Regions from separate parts of the Homo sapiens genome. Here regions 1, 2 and 4 are each linked to region 3. The links are contacts of gene promoters, found by promoter capture Hi-C in blood cells and fetal thymus (Javierre and others, 2016). All regions are on one chromosome and are shown on one strand. The core of a region is centred on a gene start or on the middle of the fragment in contact, and the rest is flanking DNA. Distances in the headings are between cores, read along the strand shown. Region 1 overlaps MAPRE2 (microtubule associated protein RP/EB family member 2). Region 2 overlaps MAPRE2 (microtubule associated protein RP/EB family member 2). Region 3 holds the start of ZSCAN30 (zinc finger and SCAN domain containing 30). Region 4 overlaps MAPRE2 (microtubule associated protein RP/EB family member 2).

The links. Contacts are between HindIII fragments. The CHiCAGO score rates a contact against its expected background, and 5 or more counts as called.
Region 1: a fragment that was not itself captured here is called in contact with the fragment with the promoter of ZSCAN30 in region 3 in 1 of 17 cell types (naive B cells); the score reaches 5.2 in naive B cells.
Region 2: a contact is called between a fragment that was not itself captured here and the fragment with the promoter of ZSCAN30 in region 3, in 1 of 17 cell types (activated CD4 T cells). The highest score is 5.2, in activated CD4 T cells.
Region 4: a fragment that was not itself captured here is called in contact with the fragment with the promoter of ZSCAN30 in region 3 in 1 of 17 cell types (naive B cells); the score reaches 5.5 in naive B cells.

The regions. Positions count from the first base shown.
Region 1 is chr18:35,141,123-35,143,822 of GRCh38, reverse strand. It overlaps MAPRE2 (microtubule associated protein RP/EB family member 2), which reads right to left. Exons shown (of 7, transcript NM_014268.4): 7 at 353-2,700. Among named protein-coding and RNA genes, the nearest start is that of ZNF397, 99 kb to the left of the region's middle. The HindIII fragment of the contact is 1,315 bases long and covers 593-1,907 here.
Region 2 is chr18:35,054,297-35,056,996 of GRCh38, reverse strand. The region is part of intron 1 of MAPRE2 (microtubule associated protein RP/EB family member 2); the gene reads right to left. Among named protein-coding and RNA genes, the nearest start is that of MAPRE2, 14 kb to the right of the region's middle. The HindIII fragment of the contact is 2,740 bases long and covers 52-2,700 here.
Region 3 is chr18:35,288,752-35,291,536 of GRCh38, reverse strand. ZSCAN30 (zinc finger and SCAN domain containing 30) reads left to right here and starts at 1,308. Exons shown (of 4, transcript NM_001112734.4): 1 at 1,308-1,453. It also overlaps the pseudogene ZNF271P. RefSeq lists an enhancer at 1,032-1,191. The HindIII fragment of the contact is 2,453 bases long and covers 412-2,785 here.
Region 4 is chr18:35,123,760-35,126,459 of GRCh38, reverse strand. The region is part of intron 4 of MAPRE2 (microtubule associated protein RP/EB family member 2); the gene reads right to left. Among named protein-coding and RNA genes, the nearest start is that of MAPRE2, 84 kb to the right of the region's middle. The HindIII fragment of the contact is 2,606 bases long and covers 123-2,700 here.

The DNA.
Region 1 (2,700 bases), core at 1-2,500, 150 kb after region 3:
CCAGCACTGTCTTGTCCAGATGGAGTATGCTGGACCTGCAGGAGCTAGGATTCTGTTTGCTTGCAGGTGGAATGTTTCCCAAGGGAATGTTTTCTCTTTATGTCTTTTTTTTTTTTTTTTTGGTAAAGTTTTTAAAAGGTATTATAGCTGCTACATTTGATATCAAATACGAGTCTGTAACTCTTGTTAACAACATTGGCCATCAATAAAAACAAAGACAACCCCCGCCCCGGGGAAATCATAATAAAATGTGGGTAGATGTGTAAATCCACACAAATCTATTCCTATTCACATGCTGACTGAAAAGGGAAGCTTCAGCATAAAAATTTAAGAATCTGTAACTCCAGGCAGATTTTAACATATACTTTTTTTTTTATTAAATATGTAAAAAGATCAATGCAAGTCAAGTTATTCACATATTCAGAGACAAAAAACTATTCTACCATGCGACAATAGGTGGGTAATGTAAAATGAATGTGATACATCTGAATAAGACTTTTTCATCTATTATGTCATTACTTATCTATATTTATAATTAACAATACATATGTTTACATTCCTTTCAGTTTACATTTAATATATAACAAAAGCTTTATGGTGTCCTATTTAGTAAAAGTAATCTGAATGCATATTAAACCTTAACGGAATAATGGAAATACTCACCAGGGAAGGGAAGAGTTCTTGGTTCCCTTCTGGAATTTACTTCTCTCAGGTCAACAGGTGTTTTTCTTTCTTTTTTTTTTTTTTTTTTCCTGCTTTTCTGCTTAGAACAAATATGGGCTTTCTCTTTGCCCCCTGCTTCGATCACTTCCTATCTGACAGTAGCAGTGGAAGTGCTATAACCAGCCGACAGCGGGCACGAGGGGGGGTACTAAGGATGAAACTGGGCTTCCTGAGAGGGAGAAGTGGAGCACGCAATCAGGGACGCTTCCTGCCCAGCCCGATGACATGTGACCAGGGGCCGCTAAGGAAACTGTTCCCTGAATGCCGAGATGAGAGAATAATGGGGTCCCACCATCCATGGGAAATGAGGGGGGATCTGCAGAGGCTGGAGGTGCAGCCTAAGAGGACTGACTCAAATTCAGCTGTTAAAGATTCCCCAAAGCATCTGAGACACCATCTGGGGTGCAGCACAACAGAAGACGTTTAAGATGGGACCAGAAAGAAGAATGTATAGCTCTTCTCTAAATAAACGAATGGTCTGCCCCAAGCCTTCAGGAAGGAGAATGGTCTATGGTGACTGGGGAAAGTTCTCTTTGCAGGCTAAGAGATCTGGCCAGCATGTTTATAACTGAGAAGGCTGGGGAGCTGGAGGGCAATGGAGTGGTTCCTGCAAGAGTCACCAGGGAGGCTTATGCAAGTTATACAGCAGTAAGGGGTTGCTGGAGAAGGCAGGATCCTGACTCCCTGCTACCCACTCACGTGCATCCACATGACAGGAGTTTGGTCATGATCCACTGAGCATTGGGTATGACTGAGATGTCCAGAGCAGATGAAGAATGGCCTAGGAACCACTGCAGTATCAGGTGCATAGAGTTATTGTGACCTTTTACAAGAGCTATTTTTTGTTTTTAAAGAGATCAGTGAGTACAACAGGCTCAGAAGGGCAACACGCTGTTAAGCATGATGCTGGGTATAGCACAGCCACTACTACTTGTGACCAGGTGTGGGAGGACGTCACTGCCGAGAGCCAGGCTGTCCAGCCTTAGAGAAATAAGCTGCTGCTATAATGCAGAGTGAGCAGGAGAGAGAAGAAAGGGAAACCAAACACCACGGAACATCTGTCTAATTCTGCACAGTGTGTTGTAATAATCTGAAAAATACAAGCCATCTTTTCCACATAACTCAATAAATATCACTTTGCTGCAAAAGATTTATTTTGGAGAGACTTCTTTTGGTGAAAAGCTTCAATGCTAGAATTTAGAATTCATATTTCATCGATTAATAAAGAAATTTCAAAGCTTCAGGATACATAATTCAGAAATTTATTTTAAGCTTTTCAGTTAAGCGGAAAGTGGGGTGGGCACATTTGTTTCTTGTTTTTGTTGCACCTGCTAAGTCAAATAACAAGTGAAAGTAAACCTAAAGTTAGAAACCAAGGTGAAATGAATGATCCAGGAAGGGATACCATCTGTCAAAGGAAAAAATAAAAATAAAGAAAAAAAAGAGGCAAAGACTTGGAAAGAGACTAAGAAAATGTACAAATATTAGTTAAAAAATAAGGAATGCTTTTAATTCATTAATGTTTCCTCTATTTATGAATTGCCATGGTTTAGCTAAGGTCAATGACAAGGAGGGCCCTTGTGTTAAAGAGGGAAAATTCTTTATTCTAGAAGATATTGGGAGTCATAGATTTTTCTGTGCTGTTATTCCAGTGTCTACACCAGACTGCAGAACCATGATTCTCCCTCGCAATTATGCTCCTATTAATAAGGTCTTCACTTCTAGCCTTACAGCAAGTGTGTGGCATGGTGCAGAGCCTTGGAGCTCAGGGCTGCACACCTGAAGTTACCCTTTAGTAGGGGTCCCCTAGAGTGAATGACAGTTTTGTGGCTGAAACCTACACAAAGAGGAAGAGGAATGAGGCAGGAAGACCCGTACCTAACCATACCCTCTTTGGACTGCAGAAAACTGATGGCAACATCTCGGGGAGTGGCTGCCCACCAAAGAGGACCCTGAGAAAGAAAAGAGCATAACCTG
Region 2 (2,700 bases), core at 172-2,671, 230 kb after region 3:
GATACATGGTAAGACCATGGGTTTGGGAAGGACAGTGGAAGCAGGGAAGCTTTTTGAACTGCAGTCTCCTCTTTAGATTCTGCAGCGCTATGCTATGAGGACTTACAGGAGCAAAGGACAAAATTTTTAATACAGTATACTGCAGTAGTTTAACAAATGTTAGGGATAGGGGTCATTACTGAATTGAGAATGTTTTGTTAAACTTGGGATAAAGACAGAACAGTAACAATTAGTTAATAAGCATTCAAAGATAATTAAGAAAAAGGAAATTACCACAAGACCTAGTAAACTTTTTGACTAAATAACTAGAGATGTTACTATAGGCACAAATGTCTAAATAAGAAGGGTCAGTGGATGAAGTAGTTCTAGAGTAGATACATGTGTTAAAAGTTACCCAGTATTTGAGCCAATTTGAACAGATGAAATTTAAAAATTTGGTAAAGTCCCTCCCCATCCTGCCTCCATACCGAGTTTCTAGGTTCCTAGGGTTAGAGACTTTAAAAACATTTTTAAGGAAAAAAAGGTTTGAGTTCAGCAATTGAGTAAGAATTATAAGTTTTCTTTTCTTTTTTTGGCTTTCCAAACCTAAACCAAAAACCTGACAATCACACTGGTTGATTCAATGTCTCAAAAACCTATTTTACTTTATATTATTTCAGCTTTAGCTATTGTTATAATAATAAGCATAATAAACATTTAATATCACAAATATATTAATGGGTTCATTATGTATATTTATATATGTATAATGCTACAAAGGATTAATTATTTAAAGTTAAAATATTTCATTAAAGTTGGATGAGGCAAAGTAACAACAAACTTAAAGTAGGATGCTAGTAAAAATAAAAATCTACAATTTTTTTAAGATGTCAAAGTGCTACTGTTTATTCAAAAAGCCAGATTTTTCTATTAAAAAAATCTGTCCATTTTCACTAATGCAGAAAATACAGATAAAAAATAAAATTAAAATTTCCACTGTTCCATCACCCAGTTATAACACTCATATTCATATCTTCCTAAACATCTTTTTTTTTTTTTTTTGAGACAAGAGTCTTGCTGTGTCACCCAGGCTGCAGTGCAGTTGCATGATCTCGGCTCACTGCAACTTCTGCCTCCTGGATTTAAGTGATTCTCCTGCCCCAGCCTCCCCAGTAGGTAGGATTACAGGCTGGCACCACCACACCTGGCTAATTTTTGTATTCTTAGTAGAGACAAGGTTTCACCATGTTGGCCAGGCTGGCTGGTCTTGAACTGCTAACCTCATGATCCGCCCACCTCGGCCTCCCAAAGGGCTAGGATTACAGGCGTGAGCCACCACATCTGGCCCTAAACATCTTTTATGTGTGTCTGGTGAGGGGTACCTGTGTGTATGTGTTTCACACATACAGTTATTTATAAAAATGGGTTCATATGTATACACACACACACACATACACACACACACACACACACACACACAGAGAACTGAATAGTGTCCCTGCAAGATTCATATCCACCTGGAACCTCAGATTATGACTTTATTTGGAAAAAGGTCTTTGCAGATATGATTAGTTAAGGTGAGGATATACTGGATTAAGGTGGGCCCTCCAATGACTGGTTCCTTAAAAGACGACCATGTAAAAAACACAGATGAAGAAGGCCAGGTGATAATGAAAGGCAGAGATGGGCGTGATGAAGCTGCAAGCCAAGGAGCACATGGGGGCCAAAAGAAGCGGGAAGAGACAAGGAAGGGTCTCCCAGAGCTGTTGGAGGGAGCATGGCCTTACTAACACCTTGGTTTTAGACTTCTAGCCTCCGGCATCACAACTGTGAGAGGATCAATTTGAAGCCGCCCGGTTTGTGGTAATTTGTTATGGGAGCCCTGGAAAACTAATATAATCCATATAAACGTTTGTAATAATCATCTTGCTTCTGTTAACATTGGTACATTTGTGAACTTTTTTCATATTTTCTTCACATGTAATATTTGTATAATACTTAACCGTATAGGTATACCACAGTATACTAGATTTCAGAATTTTATTTTAACATCCTTAATTTCAAGAACTTCGACTTCGGTCATTTCCCCTCTTTGGTTCATTATTATTTCAAGCCAATAGAACTGACGGTCACTTCATTGCGAACTATGACCAAATCATCTCTGCCTTACATAAAAAGATTTTCCAATGTCTTCATGTGATTTTGCAGGGGCTTAGTTGTTTGCTAGTTAAGAGTCCTAAAAGCCAAATGGACATCATCATCTAGGCTCCCTTGTTAACAGGAAAAAAACCAAGTAATCATCTTATCAAAAAAAAGAAACAAACAAACAAAAAAACCCACACATCCTTGGCCATCGTAAACTAAGGGAATCACAGGATGTCCTGTCTATTAGTATTTGGCTTCCGTTCACGGCACATCCTCAAATCAAAAAGAACACTCGCAACTCTCAAGGGATCCTTGAGTGGCTGTGGTCCACTCAGTCCCAACCAGAACAGAGAGAATCATCTGACTGCCGCCACCATGGAGGCAGCGACTCACCTGAAATTCGGCCTGAACCTTTTGGCAATAAAATGAATAAATGTTAAACGAAATAAGTGGCACCCACGAAATCTAGTAGTAGGCCTAGGACATTTGTGAAATCATTAGTGAACTTAAACTTTGCATTTTTGGATTTTGAAACATATGTAGTTAAGAAACTGGCTTTTAGCTGGAAAGATTTCT
Region 3 (2,785 bases), core at 59-2,558:
AACTTTTAACTATGCCCCTACAGTAGATAAGAAAAATGACCAAAACTGACAGATTAGCAATGAGGTCATTATACAGGGAAAAATGAATGACTTTGGGGTCTTAAAAAAGTGGAGAGAGCTGCATGAGAATTTGATCGCCAGATTTTGAAATAAAGTCATGTGACTATGCTTGGTACACTAAAGAGGTAATACTGCCTAACAGAGTTAAGGGGGATCATTTGAAGACACTAGCATAGAGTGACACCCCCTCATCCTCCCCACCCCGCCAAAGCCACTAAGAAAGATATAATACCCTGCCTCTCACCTGACAGAAGGTGGTGTTCCTGAGATTCATAATTGAACTGGATCTCCATGGGCTGCAACTGGACACCTCAGTGTGCAAGTGGAGAATTACCATTTCCTCTGTAAGCTTTTCTTGTCCACATAAAGGTCTGGGACCTGGAGGCAACTGGGCACCACTGGGCTTGGAAGGGAATCATTGTGCTGACTACAGATGTAATCTCTGAGACTAGACCACCAGAAAAATCCTCAAGATATAAAAGAAGGAGAAAACAAAAAATCTCATTTGACTTCCAGTTGCTTTTCTCTCAGAATGTATTAGGCTTCCTCCCCATCATCCAAGAGCCAGGGATTAACCCACTTAAGACACACATTCCCCATTCCAAGTCTAGAGATGTTCAAACAAAATTAGGGGTTAATGCTACCAAAAAAAGGTATAACTGGAAAGATAACGCAGAGAGGGGAATTTTACAGTGAATTCTAGTGGTTAACACTATGTTATTCGCTGCCCTTCCTATCCAAAAATGACACTACTGATCATTTTTCTTCCTTTTGCTTTTACAACATTCACAAATTCAGGTGGCTCTTTCCCAGTACGGTAGGCTGATTCGTATGGATGCACCACGGTTGGTGACTCCCCCCACCCCACAGAGTTTCTGGCGTTCATTCGGTTGAACCCAAGGCCAGCAAGGGCTGACTGGGAACAAACCGAACACTAGGCCGTGAACCAATCGTCTCTCCGTGCCCGGGAGCGACCCCGGGGGCCTTCACTCTCCAAGGACTCGAGAAACCATGCACAGTTTCCTGCTCGTTAGGCAAGATCACCCGGAACTCCTCTGCTATCCGCGAGCCGACATCACCCTTACCTCGACTTGGTCACCGGACCGCTGTGAAGCCTCACACCCGGCGAACCTGCCATCGCCCTGTCCGCTCTAGGAATCTGGGAGGAGTGCTCAGCTCTATGGCGCTTCACCGCGCAGGCGCAGGGCGGGGGTGGGGCACCGGGTGACGGAGGGCTGCCGAGAATTAACCCCCGAACCGCCGCGAGCTGTCCCTAGCAGTGCCTTAGCCAGGGACCTGCTTGGCCAGCGACAGATCCTTTGCTGCTCTGTCTGCCGGTTCTTGAGGTGAATGTCGGAATCCATTATCTTTCGGGAAAGCTCTCTGGGGCAGGGTAGGTTTTCTTACTACATACAAGTTCTTAATTAGTTATCGTTTTTTAAATAACCACCCCTCCCCCTATCGCTTATCTGATTCGTAGGTATGCTTTAATTCTAACTTTCTTCCTGTCCTCTCTGGTTTTTCACACCCCCAGAAGAGTAGCGCGCATCAGAATCACCTGGAGGCCTTGTTAAAATACTGACTTCTGCCCCACAACTCCGGAGTTGCTGATTTAGTAGTGGGGGAGGGGGCGGTGGCAGCCCAGGTTCTCAGGTGATCCTGAAGCTGTTGGTCCTGGGACCACATTTTGAGAACCACTGCCCAAGAAATAAGTGATGCTCAGTAATTAATCCCTGAATTAACGGAAAGTTGGATTTTTATCTACTTTGCAATCTAGAAAGGGTACGAGGTCTATTTAAGGTTTGCTTGCTAGAACAATTCTCACTGATCAGGGTGAGAAGGACCCGAAATGGAGGGTGCGGGGTAATCAGGGTAGGAAAGGATATTGCTGTGTTCATGGAAATATCTTGGGAAATGAGGAGTTGGGACCTCATTTCTGTTGAGACCAATGAGACGTGTGACTTGGTTTAAGCTGTCCGGTGGGGAAAGGAAGAGGTTTGAGAAAATGGTGGGTGGCTAAGTGGTAGTTGAGGTGGAGGAAGAGGGCTTCCTGTCCCAGCCCAAGTCCCTGTTGGGATATATGAAATTTAGGGATGTATGACTAAGCCCTTAATATAACCGTAAGAGGAAAGAGATGTGGGAACTTGAGTCCAACCCTCCCAAGTAGGGAGTGCAGATAGTTTTAAAAAAACAGCTTTCTTTTTGGCCAGGCGCAGCTTAGGCCTGTAATCCTAAAACTTTGGGAGGTTGAGGCAGGTGGATCACCTGAGATCAGGAGTTGGAGACCAGCCTGGCCAACAAGGTGAAACCCTGTCTCTACTACAAATACAAAAATTAGCTGGGCATGGTGGTGTGCGCCTTTAATCCCAGCTACTTGGGAGGCCGAGTCAGGAGAATCGCGTGAACCCATGAACCCAGGAGGCGGAGGTTGCAGTGAGCCGAGATTGCGCCACTGCACTCCAGCCTGGGTGACAAAGCGAGACTTTGTCTCAAAACAAAACAAAACAAAACAAAACAAAACAGCTTTATTGAGGTATAACTGACATAAACAGCAAATATTTAAAGGATATAATTTGATAAGGCTTGTTAAATGAATACAGCTGTGGAACTATCACTGCAATCAAAATAATATGTTTATTACATCTAAACCCCAAAAGTTTCCTCCTGCCCGTTGGTAAGCCTCTCTCCCAATGCCCCCTCCACTGGTCAGCTGTTACTAGAGATT
Region 4 (2,700 bases), core at 176-2,675, 170 kb after region 3:
TCTCCATAGCAGTGGCACTCCTGATGCCCAAACTTTGGTTTCTAAATGTTATTCTGCAATAAAAGGGCTTCTTGAGAAATGGCTGATTCTAGGGATGGTGCAGGGAATGTTCAGGGTAAGCTTAGGATATCTTGTGTCAAAAAGCAAGGAGGTGCTCCAGGATTTATATCAAGAGCTTGAAGGGGCTCTCAACTAGTCACACTTGGGACAGCTGAATATCAGGAAGAACAATAGCTTCATTTATTGTAATGCACTGGATAAATAAAAATCTATTAATCTATAATGACTGAAAAAGAGATGGGCTGGAAGACAGGGAGAGGGAGAGGGAAGAGAAAAGAATATAAAGATCTTTTCAATCCTTTTTAAGGAACACTGGCAGCCACTAAATATGCAAGAAATGCTGGAACTAGAAAATAAATCACAATTTTGCAACATCCGTAACTAATAAGCGATTCACAAAGGGCTCGTCATTGGACACGTAAACTTTAGGTGAGAGGGTTTTGGGGAACAAGATATTTACATGTGTTACTCTAAAGGGGAAAACACACCCTTACAATGGGGAGATCTGAGAGTCAGCACCTTAAGGAAGTGATCCACTTAGCATCACTAATAATGTTGTGAAGTGGAAAAAAGAAAAACCATTGGTTTCAGGTAAGACCTCGCCTATCTGGAGCTCAGGTCACAATAGACTCTCACTACCTAGAACAACGCGCAGACACAAGAATGGCCTCTGCGGCCAAAATAGATGTCCCAATGTATACGCAGTGTACTTCATGGATTATGAAATTCCAAGCCACTACTGGGGGCCCGTCCATTCCCTTTTCCTCTGAACACAGTCCCTGTGAAGTGGCATCTCTGTCTTCCACTACCCCTTCAGTGTGGTGCAGGTGTTCCTTCTCTGTGCTCCCACTGGCCTAATTCCCCAACCCCTGCTCTTATTTAGAGCAAGAAACACATCTTACTCATCTTTGTAACCCCAGTGCGTAGCACAATGCTCAGCTGAACATGTATTTGCTTAAAGAGCAAAAGTTTAACTAACTATATAAACAAGTAAATAAAACTTTTAGTGATGCGGTTTCCAATTTTACAGTTTATTTCCAACTTCACAGTTTATTAGTACCAAGAGATTAGCAAGAGCCGAAGGGTTATAAAGACAGGTATGTGACAGCAGTTACAAGTTTCAACCAACATCCTAATTACAAAGTAGCAAACAGAAAGACCATAAAATTTATATTTGTGTCTTCAGGTGCCTGGGGTCATTAGCTCCGGATGCAAGTCACACCCCCTAGAAGCACTGACAGCATTACAGCCTTTAAATATAAGCCTTTCTGTTAAAAATTTTTAAAAAATAAACTTCTTTAAAAACACAGGGAGGTGCCTAATATACTTTAAAATGAGAATGGTTAAATTGGGAAAGACTTAAAATAGTTTGAATATTCTCAGGGTAAATCTGTGCAGAAGAGCTTCCCCAGGGTTCCAGAGAGCTGACGTTTTGCTTTGTGACTGGTATATGGGCTTCAGCTCTGTTGAAGCCCATATAAAACACTCCTGGAACACTACTTCCATGTCCCGCTGACCAAGTTCTTTAACCCAAAGGCAAACCAACTGGGTAAAGAAAACAAGTAGACAAGCAGGCAGGGGAGGCAGGGTGAGGACACCTGATCTGGCAAAGAATCTTCTCTGAGGCAGCCACCAGCCTAACAGCTGGGGAGACAGCTCGGAAATATCAAGTTCTTTCAGATCTTTTTATAAGCAATACCTCATATTTTAATATAAAGGAAGTCTAACAGAAAGCAGTGCGAAGACTACCTATGATCAACACCCCTTACACACATATTTGTTAAGTGCCTGCCATGGGCCATGCACTGGAGGCCCCTAAAAATGCCTAAGATGCAGTCTTTGTTCTCTAGCTCAGTCTCACACAGAGCAACAGCTATCTAAGAATTTCTGGTATGGCACCTTCAATGTTCTCAGGAACAAGCCAGGGTTCTATGACTCCATGACCATCCCATGTGACGTGGTTTGGCTGTGTCCCCACCCAAATCTCATCTTGAATTGTAGTTCCCATAATCCCCACATGTTGTGGGAGGGACCCCGTGGCAGGTAATTGAAGCATGGGGGGCGGTTACCTCCATGTTGTTCTTGTGATATTGAGTGAGTTCTCATGAGATCTGACGGTTTTTTAAGGGGCTTTTTCCCTCTTTGCTTGGCACTTCCTCCTTCCTGCTGCCGTGTGAAGAGGGACATGTTTGCTTCCCCTTCAGCCATAATTTTAAGTTTTCTGAGGCCTCCCTAGCCCTGAGAAACTGTGAGTCAATTAAACCTCTTTTCTTTATAAATTATCCTGTCTTGGGCAGTTCTTTATGGCACTGTAAGAACTAATACACCATGCAAGTCAGGCTGTATTCTCTCTGCCTCCTTCCTGTCCCCTACCTCCTCTGAGCAAGTAGGTCTACCACCCTGCCAGTCTCAGCTCAGATGTCACTTTGTCTGGGAGGCCACAGTGCCCTGAACACTTTCCACTGTTGTGGTACAGCTATTTCTTTAATGTCTACTTCTCCCATGAACATAAACCCTAGGACATAGGTGTTTCATCTGTTTTAGTCACCTTATGCTCTCACCACCAATCACAGTGCCTAACCCAGAGAAATTCAATAATAGTTTTTATAATTCATTATATAAGACCTAGCAGAGGCATCT